2 separate regions of the Homo sapiens genome follow, and region 2 is linked to region 1. The links are contacts of gene promoters, found by promoter capture Hi-C in blood cells and fetal thymus (Javierre and others, 2016). All regions are on one chromosome and are shown on one strand. Each heading gives the region's core, a stretch centred on a gene start or on the middle of the fragment in contact. The rest is flanking DNA. Distances are from core to core; before and after follow the strand shown. Region 1 holds the start of CBLIF (cobalamin binding intrinsic factor). Region 2 has its middle 23 kb from the start of MS4A2.

Evidence for each region. The method cuts DNA at HindIII sites, captures the fragments that hold promoters and counts their contacts. A CHiCAGO score of 5 or more calls a contact.
Region 2: a fragment that was not itself captured here is called in contact with the fragment with the promoter of CBLIF in region 1 in 1 of 17 cell types (erythroblasts); the score reaches 5.3 in erythroblasts.

What each region holds. Positions count from the first base shown.
Region 1 is chr11:59,842,639-59,849,395 of GRCh38, forward strand. CBLIF (cobalamin binding intrinsic factor) reads right to left here and starts at 2,861. Exons shown (of 9, transcript NM_005142.3): 1 at 2,737-2,861; 2 at 1,241-1,417; 3 at 390-503. The coding sequence starts at 2,815. The HindIII fragment of the contact is 3,325 bases long and covers 176-3,500 here.
Region 2 is chr11:60,107,953-60,115,470 of GRCh38, forward strand. No RefSeq gene overlaps it. Among named protein-coding and RNA genes, the nearest start is that of MS4A2, 23 kb to the left of the region's middle. The HindIII fragment of the contact is 3,060 bases long and covers 504-3,563 here.

The DNA of each region.
Region 1 (6,757 bases), core at 1,611-4,110:
TTGCAAAGAAGGAAAAGCCAAGCCTTTGAAAAGGAAATTGCTAGAAAACCTGCCCCCAAAGAGAGACACAGCATAGGCAAAGAGCAACTTCAGTGTTTTTCAAAAGAATGTCATCAGGCATCTGCAAAGAATAAAAGGGATGACTCTGTGTCTTTAGACAGGTGATGGCTGGACAAGCTTGTGTCCTTGGGATCATGACCTTTTCTAGTTCATTTTGGATTGGAAATGAATCTTTCTGGTCTGGATTATCAGAAGGACCAGAGTGAAGGATACATTGTCTCTTCCCTAACTTGCCTTTCTCTCCACCCCCACCCTTTTCCTTTCTGGGTTTAAAATTCTTAGGTAAAACCATATGCCTGACTCTTTTCTCCCTTCCAGTCAGGTCTTACTGGAAGGTGCCCAGTTCTCCATTTGTCTTTGTAGAATGGATACTTTATCCCCAGGGTCTCGGCAGGAGGAGGTGAGGGCCATGATGGTGAGGCCGAGCTGCCCAATGGTTAGATCTGCAGAGAAGAGAACACAACGGTTAGACAGAGACATCCTCAGGGGACAGCTCTCCAGGAGCCAGTGATGAGTTCTCTGCTTTTTATCTAGAGCATTTTGACTTTTTAATAATATGAGCAGTTCTTTGATCTGTCTTTCCAAAGAAAAAAATATGGAAGAATACGTAAGGGAATATTTAATCTAGTGGCCTCTGTGTAACTTGATGACTCTAGTATTTGGTATTTGAGAATCCCTGGTATTTGATTAGAAAAGCAGCAAAATACTCATATAGATTTATATACAGAAATTTACAGTTGCAAAATAATTTAAACTTTATCTAACTTGAGCCTGCAGGCAGCTCCTGGGAGATAGGCAGAACAGAGATTTTATTATTATTATCATTGCTATTAGTAGTAGTAGGGTTATTGTTACTACAATCATCTGCAAGGTGAGGCTGAGCAGTATCCAGTGACTTGTCTCAGATCCCAGAGTTATGACGTGGCAGAGCCAGAACCAGAAGGCTGCTCTTTCGACGTCTAGTCCAGAGCTCTCCCTGCTTTACTGACCTCCTCCATGAATGCTCTGACTTCACACATGTTTCTTTCCAGGTACCTTCCAGGTATGTAAGGAAAGGTGTTTGGGTAGTTTATTTACAGTCAGAGGCAGCATTGGGGTGGGAAGGACGCTGAGTTGGAATCTGGAGGTGGTATGTGATGTGTGAGATTCAGGGAGAGTGCGAGCGGCTCAGATGTCTCACCGTTGTTGTCGCTGGACATGAGCTGGTAAGTCAGGAGCTTCTGGGCCTTCAAGTTGTAGGCTCCGGCCAGATTCATGGCAATCAGGATGCTGGGGTTTGGGTAGGCTGATGAAGTCACCGAGTTCTCCATGAGTACTTGTATTCCATTGACCAAGGGCTCCTGTGCTGAGGGAACGGCTGAGAAGAGGAAAGCCATTTACTCACCTTCTAACCCTCATTCCTTCTCAAAAACATTATCCCCGTGTCTTTGATGCTTTTTCTTTCTTTCTTTTTTTTTTGAGACAGTGTTACTCTTGTTGCCCAGGCTAGAGTGCAATGGCACGATCTCGGCTCACTGCAAACTCTGCCTCCCAGGTTCAAGTGATTCTCCTGCCTCAGCTTCCTGAGTAGCTGGGATTACAGGTGTGCACCACCACGCCAGGCTAATTTTTGTATTTTTAGTAGAGATGGGGTTTCACCATGTTGGCCAGGGTAGTCTCGAATTTCTGACCTCAGGTAATCCACCCTTCTTGGCCTCCCAAAGTGCTGGGATTACAGGCGTGAGCCACCTCGCCTGGCCATCTTTGATGCCTTTTAGGAGAACACTTGATTAGCATTAGTGTCCTAAGTCACTAAAGAGAAATGGAGAAAATGGTGAGATTTTACTTTTGAGGACAATTAGTTTCTACATCTTCTCAAATAATCCATATCCTTAAGAAAGTGATTTTTAAATTTAGTAACTTCAAGCAATATGGCTCATGACATTTCTCATAGTTTCTATCACTTTCCTGGAAATCACTGATTTCCTTGCATTCATTTTTTTCCTTACTCTTTCATGAAGAGTATTAAAGATTTGGGATATAATTTATCCTCAGTGAGTACCAAAATCTCTCACTAGTATGTAGTGGTGTCTGGTCACAATAGCCACTGAGTGTCTGTCTTTGTACCATCAACCATTATTCCTGCAGTAGTACTTCCATCTCTATTATTTTTATTTATTGATTTTTTGAGACAGGGTGCTGCTGTGTCATCTAGGCTGGAGTGCAGTGGTGTGATTATAGCTCACTGCAGCCTCGACCTCCTGGGCTCAAGCGATTCTCCTACCTCAGCTTTCTGAGTAGCTGGGACCACAGGTGCATGCCACTGCGCCCAGCTAATTTTTTATTTTTATTTATTTATTTTTTTTGTAGAGATGGAGTCTCACCATGTTGCCCAGGCTGGTCTTGAACTCTTGGGCTCAAGCAATCCTCCTGCTTCAGTCTCCCAAAGTGCTGGGATTACAGGTGTGAGCCACTGCACCTGGCCCCATCTCTCTTAATAAAAAACATATAGACTTGTCTCTCAAAGAACTTATGCTATTAAGTCAGGAAGGATGAACAGCACACAATCACACTCAGACTTACCCATTTTGGAATTCCTATAGTGATTGCTATTTTCAACCACTCAGTGTCAGAGGTCACAGCCCCTTCCCCAGGGCAACTGCTTCCCTGACCTCCTTGGAAAAACATCATACTCACAGCATGAACTCTGGGTCTGGGTACTAGTCCCAGCTGTAGCCCAGAGAAGGCTCAGGAGGTAGAGGGCAAACCAGGCCATCTCACTCTCTCGTCTATGTCTCTCATCCACAGGTACCGCGATTTGCAAGTGGAATATTTCTTTACCTTCTCTTATATGTGCTTCCCTTTGTTAAATAATCTGTCCCCAACCCAGCCTCTCCTAACTGCCCCTGTGCTGACCTCTCCTTTCCTGATACAAGTAAGTAAATTTTCATTTGCTTATCTAAGTTTACCGACTATAGACCCTCCAAGGTGTCTGAAGGTGACTTCTAGGTTGCACAGTCATATGAGAAACCTGGGGCTGGGTATGCAGTGAAGGCAATGTTGAGAAAATGTCCTTTACCAAAGGCCTGGGTCAGACATCAGGAAGTTTGGATAATGTGCTAGTATCAACAAGACCTCTTCTAGCCCTTATTGTATCCAATCAGTTACCAGGCTGCTTTTTAGTAACTACTTCACTGGGATTTAGGCCATTCATAGGCATCAGCTCATTTTATGATCCTAGACACCTGCTTTACAACATGTCCTTTTAGGCTCTCAGGCAGGGATCTGCCAGGTGACATCTGGCTTTGTGAAATTAATGATGTCTACCTGGACCTGGATTCTAGCCTAGACTCTTTGAAGTTGTTTGACTTTAGGCAAGAAATGGACCTCGGTTTCCCAGAAATGGTTTTGTTTGATTTCTCTTTCCTTATCTGGAGATAAAAGCCATCTCAAACACCCAAAGCTTTCAGATATTATCTTTTAAAGTAAGTAATTAGAAAATGTGAGATCCATTAAGAATACATATTTCAGATGTGTAGCTACATTATAATGCAAATTATACTTCTTTATAAGGGAGAACTGAAAATGGTATGTTGAAATTATAAAGAAAGGAGTTTTGTTTGTTTTTTTCCTGCATGTAAAGTAGCTCATTTTAAGGGGATATTCTCCAGTGGCGCCCATCTTAGCATAAAAGTCAAAGCCCTTTTCATGACCTATAAGACCTTAGAAGATCTGGCTCCTGGTTTCCTTTCTGACCTCAGCTCCAGGCGTTTTCCCCTTTGCTCACACCGCTCCCATCACACAGAACTTCTTGTGCCCCTTGAACACATCAGCTACCTTTGCACATGATGTCCCCCTCAGCCCAGGACCCTCTTCTTTTAAATAGCCTCATGGTGGCTTCCTCACATCCTTCATGTCTCTGCTCAGAGGTAAGCTTTTAGAGACGCCTTCCCAGGCCACCCTACATAAGATCCTACATCCTCACCTCCACTGACACCCCTCATGCCCCTCGCCTGCTATAACTCATTGCCCTCTGTCGCACTAAGTGTGTGGTTGTTTATCGTTTGTTTATCTCCCTACTAGAATGTCTGCTCCACGAGGGAGGGGCTTTGTCTCTTTGGCTCACTGCTCTATCCTTAGCCCTTACAACACTACCTAGCTCACAGTAGAAATAAAATACTTTTTGAATGAGTGAATTAATGAGCAAATGTAAGACATGGGTAATAAAGCATTTTTTCCCCCTTGGGAAACATGGGTGAGTTTTGTGAGATGAGAGCACAGGGTACATACTGGGGTGTGCTGGACAACTTCTAACATGGCCCTGTGTTTTCACCTCCCGGTATTCATGCCTTGTGTAGTCCTCTTCCCTAGAGTGTGGGCTGGCCTGGGGCCACATTCTATTATAATGAATATAATGCAGCAAAGGTGATGGGATGTGGTTGCAAAAGACCGATTTCCCTCTTGCTTGCCTTCTCTCTCTTGCCCTTCCTGCTCTCATGAAGGCAGCTGCTAAGTGTGAGCTGCCTTATGGAGAAGCCCACATATGGCCCCTGAGAGTAGCCTCCAGCCGATATTCAGGGAGAAAAGAACCCTTCCCCAGTGAGCTTTGAGATGAAGGCAGCCCCAGCTGACATCTTGATTGCAGCCCTGGGAGAGACCCTCCTAAGCCAGAGGACCCATGTAAACCCTCCCTGGACTCCTGACCCACAGAAACTGTGGGATAATAAATGTTGTCTTAGGCCCCTAAGTTTTAAAGTCACTTGTTATGCAGCAATATATATCCAATACATGGTACATGGTGGAAGATGAGGCTGGAAAGACAGTTGGCATCTACTTGGTGGACAGCCTTGCATGCTGTGTGAAGGAGTAGGAGGCAGAATAATGGCACTGCCCACACACCGCCAAATGCCCATGCCCTAATCCCTGGAACTTGTGAACATGTTACGTGGGTTATATGGCCAGGAAGAATTAAAGATGCACATGGAATTAAGGTGGCTAATGAGCTGACTTTAAGAGAGGAAGGTTAGCTTGGATCATCTGGGTGGGCTCAATGTCATCACAGAGGTCCTTGTTAGTGGCAGAGGAAGGCAAGAGCGTTAGAATCAGAAAAGCAAATGTGATGTTAGAGGCAGAAGTCAGAATGATGCAATTGCTGGCTTTGTAGGTGGACAGGGGCCATGAGCCATGCAACGTGGGCAGCCTCCAGAAGCTGGAAAAGGCAAGGAAATGGATTCTTCTTCACAAGCTCTGTTACTAGGGGAGCCCTACGGAAATAGCTGGGAGGGCTTCTTATTTTCTTAAACTGTTGTTTTCCCTTAGCCTTTTTTTTTTTTTTAAGATTGTCCCTGTTCCTTTTTTTTCTTTTTTTTTTAATTATACTTTAAGTTTTAGGGTACATGTGCACAATGTGCAGGTTAGTTACATGTGTATACATGTGCCATGCTGGCGTGCTGCACCCGTTAACTCATCATTTAGCATTAGGTATATCTCCTAATGCTATCCCTCCCCCATCCCCCCACCCCACAACAGTCCCCAGAGTGTGATGTTCCCCTTCCTGTGTCCATGTGTTCTCATTGTTCAATTCCCATCTATGAGTGAGAACATGCGGTGTTTGGTTTTTTGTCCTTGCAATAGTTTACTGAGAATGATGATTTCCAATTTCATCCATGTGCCTACAAAGGACATGAACTCATCATTTTTTATGGCTGCATAGTATTCCATGGTGTATATGTGCCACATTTTCTTAATCCAGTCTATCATTGTTGGACACTTGGGTTGGTTCCAAGTCTTTGCTATTGTGAATAGTGCCACAATAAACATATGTGTGCATGTGTCTTTATAGCAGCATGATTTATAGTCCTTTGGGTATATACCCAGTAATGGGATGTCCCCTTAGCCTTTTTATCTATAGATGCCACTGCTTAAAGAGCTCCAGATGGCCCAGGATGCTTCAGGAGCTTCATGATCCCTTGCCAAATACCAGAGGAAGATAAGACCTGCACCAGACCGGTGCAAACCAGAACCGGCAACCCCTAGTTACTTTTAGATCATTAACATATCATTATAATACTAGATTCCTCTCCCTTAAAAGAAAATCGCTGCCATTTTGTGTACATGCGAGGTATGAAGAAGTATGTCTGGGGACTGCGCCTGCGTGTTTGGAACTCCACCCTCGGCCTGCTTACATACCTCCCTGCCCCATGTCTAACTCTTGAAAATTTCCCTGCTTCCCATTGCTTAAGGAGAATGCGCCTTTAGAGCGAGAGCTCCCCTTCTCCATTCCCTGGCCAGTGAATACGACCCAATTGCTTTTGTCCAATTGCATGTTCCTTCTTTGTGACCCATACAAAGTAGGGAAAGAACTTGGTTTACTGCTGCCACCTCTAGAAGGAACACAGCTCCTTCGACACCTTGATTTTAGCCCAGTGAGACTCTGACTTCCAGAACTGTGAGATGATAAATTTGTCTTAAATAACAAAATTAGTGGTAATCTGTTACAGCAACAATAAGAATCTAATACAGGATTATGAGTACAGTATGGTGCTGACTTTGCATTCCAGAGCCTGCTCCTGATCGTCCTGAGATGATCCACACACCCTTGGCCTGCCAGCTCTTTAACCACTCACTTCCTTGTATTATAAATTACCATTTACAACCAGGGCTGCTGCAAGATTGATCGTGACACAATTGTTGCAGTTAGTAAATAATTCCCAGAACA
Region 2 (7,518 bases), core at 784-3,283, 260 kb after region 1:
AACTGAAGTGCCAGTACAAGCACACCACGGGTGATCAGGCCATGCTTCTACTCAAATGGAGTGGGCAAGTTCCTAAGACCAGTCCTGTCAAGCAATTCAAACCAAGTCAAAACTAAAACCAAAGTGCTGATAAAGGCACAACGTGGGTGATCAGGCCACGCTTCTACTCAAATGGAGTGGGCAAGATCCTAAGACTGGTCCTGTCAAGCAATTCAAACCAAAACCAAAGTGCCAATAAAGGCATGCCATGGGTGATCAGATCACGCTTCTACTCAAGTGGAGTGGGCAAGTTTCAAAGATTAGTCTTACAAAGTTTTAGATGTCCAGACTCCAAGTGCCCGTTCCTTCCCGGTGTTCAGCCACTGCATTGATCCTCCACGGGGACCTGCCACACATTGCTCTGACGAGGCGTCCCACCGGGGCAGATGCCTACCCAAGGGTACTCTCAGGATCCACGTAGCTCGGGCTGGTTGGAGTCCCCCACAGGGATGTTCCACAGGGCAAGCTTGAGCTGCCTGGACCATCCACCAATCACCTCGCTTCCTGGTCAGGGAACCAAGAAATGTAGCAGGACAAGCCTCAGACAAAAGTCCTCAGACACCCAGTTAAAAAAGGAAGGGGTTTATTCAGCCAGGGGCTTTGGCAAGACTCCCGTCTCAAGAGCCGAGCTCCCTGAGTGAGCAATTCCTGCGCCTTTTAAGGGCTCACAACTCTAAGGGGGTGCGCAGTGAGAGGGTTGTGATTGATTGAGCAAGCATGGGGTATGTGACTGGGGGCTGCATGCACTGGTAATTAGATCAGAACAAAACAGGATAGGGATTTGCACAGTGCTTTTTTATACAATGTCTGTAATCTATAGATAACTGATTAGGTCAAGGGTCAGTTTTAACTACCAGGCCTAGGGTGTGGCGCCGGGCTGTCTGCTTGTGAATTTCATTTCTGCCTTTTAGTTTTTACTTCTTTTTTCTCTGGAGGCAGAAATTGGGCATAAGACAATATGAGGGTTGGTCTCCTCCTTTAGGCAGATCACGAGCTCAGGAGTTCAAGACCAGCCTGGCCAACATAGTGAAACCCTGCCTCTACTAAAAATACAAAAATTAGCCAGGTGTGGTGTCATGTGCCTGTAGTCCCAGCTGCTTGGGAGGCTGAGGCAGGAGAATCACTTGAACCTGGGAGGCAGAGGTTGCAGTGAGCTGAGATGGTGCCATTGCACTCCAGCCTGAGTGACAGAGTGAGACTCCGTCCCTCCACCCCCCGAAAAAAAGAAAGAAAGTGAATAAAGCCAAACTTACTTGAATTTCCATTATGTCTCCAGCCTTCTGCTGAAAGCCTAACTTGTGTTACTTCATTTTAATCCATGAAACAAACTCTTGAGGTAAGCAATACCCTTTTTTAAAGCTGTAAGCGTCTTTACATAACAAAAATAAGAACAATTTGCCCAAGGCCACTTAGCCACGAGAATATAGACCTGGGATTTAAACCCAGCCTGGCTTGACTTTAGTATCTGTGCTCTTCCTACTTGGCTTAAACTGTCTGTCTTAGCCATGGGAGGTGTGAAATTAATGAATACTATCTTCCAAATGATTACGTATTTGTTCTTGAGATAGAAAACATGGAGCATTAATTGGTGGTGCAGTTCTATGTAGCTATCTCTACATAACCATTTTTTTTTTAAACCTAGACACAAGAAATAACTTCTTTACACCTCACACTCCAGACCCTGGAAATCACCTATTTCCAGGTCTCTGGTATCACCTGATATCTTGGGCTCATCTTCTATTAGAGTTTGTAGCTTTAGGAAGATGTCTACTTCTTTTAGAATTCCTCTCTGAAGGGAGGATGATACTCTGAATATGGAGTATCACACTTGATTATCTTAGGTTTTATTACAGAATAAAGACTCTTGCTTCCAGAGGTGTTATGGCCTGAATTGTGTTCCCCTCAAAGTTTATATGTTGAAGTCCTAAGCGCCAGGACCTCAGAATGTGACATATTTGGAGACAGGTTCTTTAAAGAGTAGTTAAATTGAAATGAGATATTCAGGGTGGACCCTAACTCAATATGAGTAATATTCTTATAAGAAGAGGAGTTCAGGACACAGACATGTACAGAAGGAAGACTATGTGAAGACAAAAAGAAAACAGCCATTTATAAGCCAATAAGAGAGGCCTGGAACAGATCCTTCCCTTACAGTCCTCAGAAGAAACCAACCCTGCTAAAGCCTTGATTTTAGGCTTGCTATAGCCTCCAGAACTATGAAAAAATAAATTTTTATTGTTTAAGCCACCCAGTCTGTGGTACTTTGTTATCGCAGTCGTAGCAAACTAATATAAATAGGATGAAAATTAGCAGTCTGAGAAACACCAAAATTCCCAGTTAAGGATAACCAAGACATTTGGAATTATGTTGTCTCCTCAAAGCAAAATGCAGCAATTTCTCAAGGAGAATTTAAAATCCCAGGTGATACATGAGCCTCAGACCCACAGGTATCTCTCTCCTCTTCAGATAAATCTAAAGGGAGAATAACGAAAAAAGATTGACCATACTAATTGACAAGATTGAAAATAAATGCATGGCCAGGCATGGTGGCTCACTCCTGTAATCCCAGCATTTTGGGAGGCCGAGGAGGGCAGATGACCTAAGGTTGGGAGTTCAAGACCAGCCTGACCAACATGGTGAAACCCCATCTCTACTAAAAATACAAAATTAGCTGGGCTTGATGGAGCATGCCTGTAATCCCAGCTACTTGGGAGGCTGAGGCAGGCGAACCGCTTGAACCCAGTGAGCCGATCACGCCATTGCACTCCACCCTGGGCAACAAGAGTGAAACTCCATCTCAAAATAAATAAATAAATAAAATAAAAATAAAAAATAAATGCATGCCATTGTATCTGTAGAGACTTTGAGGAGGACAGAGCAGGCTTGGGTTCCACATTCATGGGGGAAGGAGGGGCAGTGGTTGGGAAAGGTGTACCTGAAGATATGTGTGTGGAGAAATATAGGACTCTGTTATGGCAGTGTTTTCCAAACTTGTCTGACCACAATGTCTAAAACAAACATATTAAATCAGAATTGCCAAAAGAGTGAGCCTGTTGAGGGGGATAAAGCAACTCCTTGGCTGCTAATTCACCATGTTTGTAACCAGCAAAAAGGGTCTGGCTGCTCACTGAACTTCTTTCTTAAGGAATGACGTTAAAATAATAATGCATTATGATAAGAAAGAAGGATATTCCTTTATTATCCGTGCTAGGTAAGGGGAAGAGTACAGAGCAATTCAACTCTTCGATTTGTGGAGGGTAAGCAGGGTTTTTTAAAGGAAGGGTTTGGAATACAGAAGAGAGAAGGGGCTAAGAGGTGCCAGGTGGCATGACTTGCTCCGATGTCTCATCTTGAATTATTTTGTCTCATTTGGTGAAGGGGTTGGCACCATCGTGGATCCTGCCAGGTTATAAATTAGTTGCAGTACGTCTTATAGTCACCTGGAGTGGATTCCATCCTTGAAGTAATCTTTTACTGGAGAAAATTCTGGAAGTGCCTGGTGCCTATAAGGATCTGACCCATGAAGCTTCCAAGGAAAGGCAGGACCGGATAAGAGAGCATGGTGTGTGCTTAACAAGCATGTAGGTAAATAAATATGCATAAGGCATGGGAGCATAGTATGGGAAATGAAAGGGAGTGGAGGTTCACAGCACATTTTGAGCCTGGATTTAAAGATGAGAGGTAACACATATGCAGTTTGTCTCAAAGTTATATCTTCAGACTGGGATGGGAAAGAGGAAAGAAAAGAAAAAACATTTAAAATGCAGCTTGAGCCTATGTTGTTGGGCTGCTAGGCTGCTTGGTTGCATGTTGACTTCTGATTGACCCCTGTTCTGGGAATGCCTCTAAGATTTCTACTTTATCTACTGTTACTATAAATCCTGCCTTGAAGGAGACTTACACAGTGTTCTTGCCTTTCCCTGGTGAATCGACTTCAATTGTCCTATTGTTACCAATCACAGGTTCTTAGACTCTCATGTAATAGAAAGTGGCATGAGGCCCAACAAGTTTCCCAGTCAAGGCCTTTATTAAGGGCTTGTGTTGGAACAAAAGGGAGCCAGCACTGGAGTTAAAGGTTTCATGCTGTCTCCCTAAAGGCTGTGCATTGTGGTGCCTTAATACATTTATGCCTCATGCTCCATTATTGGAATGCTAAGAGTGTGGGAGTTTTTCGTATCCTATTGCTCAAGGTCATCACCAAGGTCTGATTGCAAAAATTCAAAAAATTGCAACCTCAGGCATAAGCGGGTTAAGGAGAGTGACATGCATAATTCATGAGATAGGTGAGTATCACCACATGTGTGGGATGCAGTGCAGGGTGCATGAATCTAGTAAGGAGTAATGCTAACACATACATGACATGATTAGAAAATGGCAAATAAGGCTCTCCCTGGGTAGGGATTTTAGTATTATAATGAGGCAAAGGTAAAGACCAGTCATCCTTCTGGTGTTGTGCACATGAGGGTGATAGGGTTAACTTCTTTGAGTGAAATCTATTTTGGAAGGCCATTTGTTTTAGCTTTTCAAAGGTCCTCCAATCAGAGGACCTTGCATGAAATGTATGGGACAGGGTCGGAGCATGGCTTATCTTGGCTTGTAAGGTTTTTCCATCAAGAGGGCTGCTCTAGAAGAAGTGAGAGTGCAAGGTCTTGTCAATGAAAAGATATCTTGTCAACTGCAAAATATTTTAAATTTGTTCTGAGCCAAGTATGAGAACCAATGATCCATGACACAGCCTCCCAGGGGGTCTTGAGAACATGTGCCCAAGGTGATTGGGATACAGCTTGGTTTTATATCTTTTGGGGAGGCATATGACATCAGGCAATACATGTAACATGTACGTTGATTCAGACCAAAAAGGTGGGAACACTTGAAGGAGAGAATTCAAAGATTTTCTGATTGGCAATTTGGTTGAAAGAGTTTATTACCTAAAGACTTGGAATCAATAGAAGGGAGTGTCTGGGTTAAGATAAGGGGTTGTGGAGATCAAGATGCTTATGCAGATGAAGCCTCCAGGTAGCATGCTTCAGAGAGAATAGACTGTAAAAGTTTATCAGACTTTAAAAGGTGCCACACTCTTAGTTAATTCTCTCCTGAACGAGGAAAAAGACTGGGAAAGGGAAGGGGATTCTCTACAGAATGTAGATTTTTCTCCACAAGAGACAGCTTTATAGGGCCATGTCAAAATATGTAAAATATGTTAAAGAAATATATTTTGGGATAAGATACTTCAATTTCTTTCAGGGCTTGCTGGCTTTTGTAAACCAGAGGTATCTGAGACAGATTTCAATCAATTTAGGAGTTTATTTTGCCAAAATTAAGGATATACTCATGACACAACCCCAGGGGTTCCTGAAAACATAGGTCCAAGGTGGTTGGGCTACAGCTTGGTTTTATACATTTTAGGGAGACATAAGACATCAATCAATATATGTAAGATGTATATTGGCTTGGTCCAGAAAGGCAAGACAACTTGGAGCAGGGATGGGGGATGGAAAAGGGAGAAGGAGGGGTGTTGGTTGGGAGTCTTCCAGGTAGTAGGTAGATTCAGTGATTTTCTGATTGCCAATTGGTTAAAAGAGTTTATCTAAAGACCTGGAATCAGTAGAAGGCAGTGGCTGGATTAAGATAAGGTGTTGTAGAGACCAAGGTTTTTATTACGTAGATGAGGCCTCCAGGTAGCAGGCTTCAGAGAGAATAGATTGTGTTTCTTTAGACTTTGCAAGGTGCCAGAATATTCCTTGATTCTCTCTTAGATCAGGAAAAAGAGCTGGAAAAAGAAAGGGATTGTCTACAGAATGTAGATTTTCCCCACAAGAGACAGATTTGCAGGGCCATTTCAAGAAACATCAAGGAAATATATTTTGGGGTAAAATACTTTGATTTCTTTCAGGGCCTGCTATCTGTCATGTTGGCATTTTATTGCTACAAAGAGTCTGCTTTGCCAGTCTTAAGGTCACTGTTTTAATGTGAATGTTGGTCAGTTGTGCCTGAATTCCAAAGGGAGGAGGGTATAATGAGGCATATCCAACCAGTCTTTCCAATCATGGCCTGAATTTGTGTTTTAGGCTAACTTTTGAATGTCCTTGGCCAAAAAGAGTGGTCTATTCAGTTATTTGTGGGGTGAGAGGGAAGCTTAGAATTTTATTTTTGGTTTATGCTGTCATGTGATTCTATACTAGAGAGGGTTGGAATTTGGTGTCTTATTGCTACAGAGAGTCTGTTTTGTCATTCTCAAGGTCTCTGTATTAAATGTTAATGCTGGTCAGTTGTGCTTGAATTTCAAAGGGAGGAGATTATAATGAGGCCTGTCCTACCTCCCTTCCCATCACAGCCTGAACTAGACTTTCAGGTTTATTTTGGAATACCCTTGGCCAAGAAGTGAGATCTGTAAGTCAGTTGGGGAACTTAGGATTTTATTTTTGGTTTACAGTCTGGATGGTCTAGTTGTGATCTCCAGCAGCTATAGGGCCTTTACCAGTTCGTAGTACAGGCCTTGGTGGGGTGGGGCATGCTGGGGCTTCTTTATTGAAGGTTATGGAGGAGGTGATGCAGGCACTCTTGGCCAAATTGAAATAGGGAAGTTGCAGGTTGAAGCCTCTGCCCTTTGTTGCCCGACAGTGCTAGGCCAGCCAGCAGCAGCAGTGTGGAGCCTTGGGGGCCACCTGCTCTGCCATGAGCACTGCATTCTGCCCTCTCCCTGGGCTGTGTCCCAGCACCCCAGGGGCAGCATGCAGGACCAGCAGGTCTGAAAAAAAATGCATTAGTGGGATTGGGAGTGCCGAGTCCCATTCCTATTGTGTCTTTGTACACATTCATTCCCTATAGTATATAAACCCTGAGTCTGGGGGCAATGGCACAGCAATCCATCATCTTGTCACTTTGCTGTATGTGACATAGTCATGGCTTCTGTTCTTAAGTCTCTATTAAATGATTCTTTCTGATAAACTGGATATGTCAGTCTCTTTCTTTGGCCTCTCAGATTTCTCGAAGTTTGGGGATAGGATTGCACAGACTATCGCCACGGAACACCTGTCTAGTTTAAGAAACACTGAGTGTGGTCAATGCCAATTCAGGCAACTGAAATTCTGATACACAAATGATCTGCCTATCACTAGGAACCCCCTCTAATAATGACATAGAGTAGAAAAATTGACTCACAAGTGATCTTGATGTTCTGGTGCTGATATTTTGGAAAAGCCTTTCCTTCTCCAAATACTTTTTCTTTTCTTTCTCTAGGTACTCTAGACTATGATTGGTATTAAATGCTTCCTTTTAGGAATAATGAGGTATTTAATTATATTTTTAAAGAGGACAATATTGTTTTGTTTTGCTGCCATATAGCTTCTTCATTCTGAGGAGCTTATCTGTGACCATATCTCTCCCATTTACTTCTAAAATTAAATAATTACCCTATTAATTCTTCAGACAATTATTGCATGCTCATCTGTGCCAGCTGTATAAGTTTTATAAGTTATT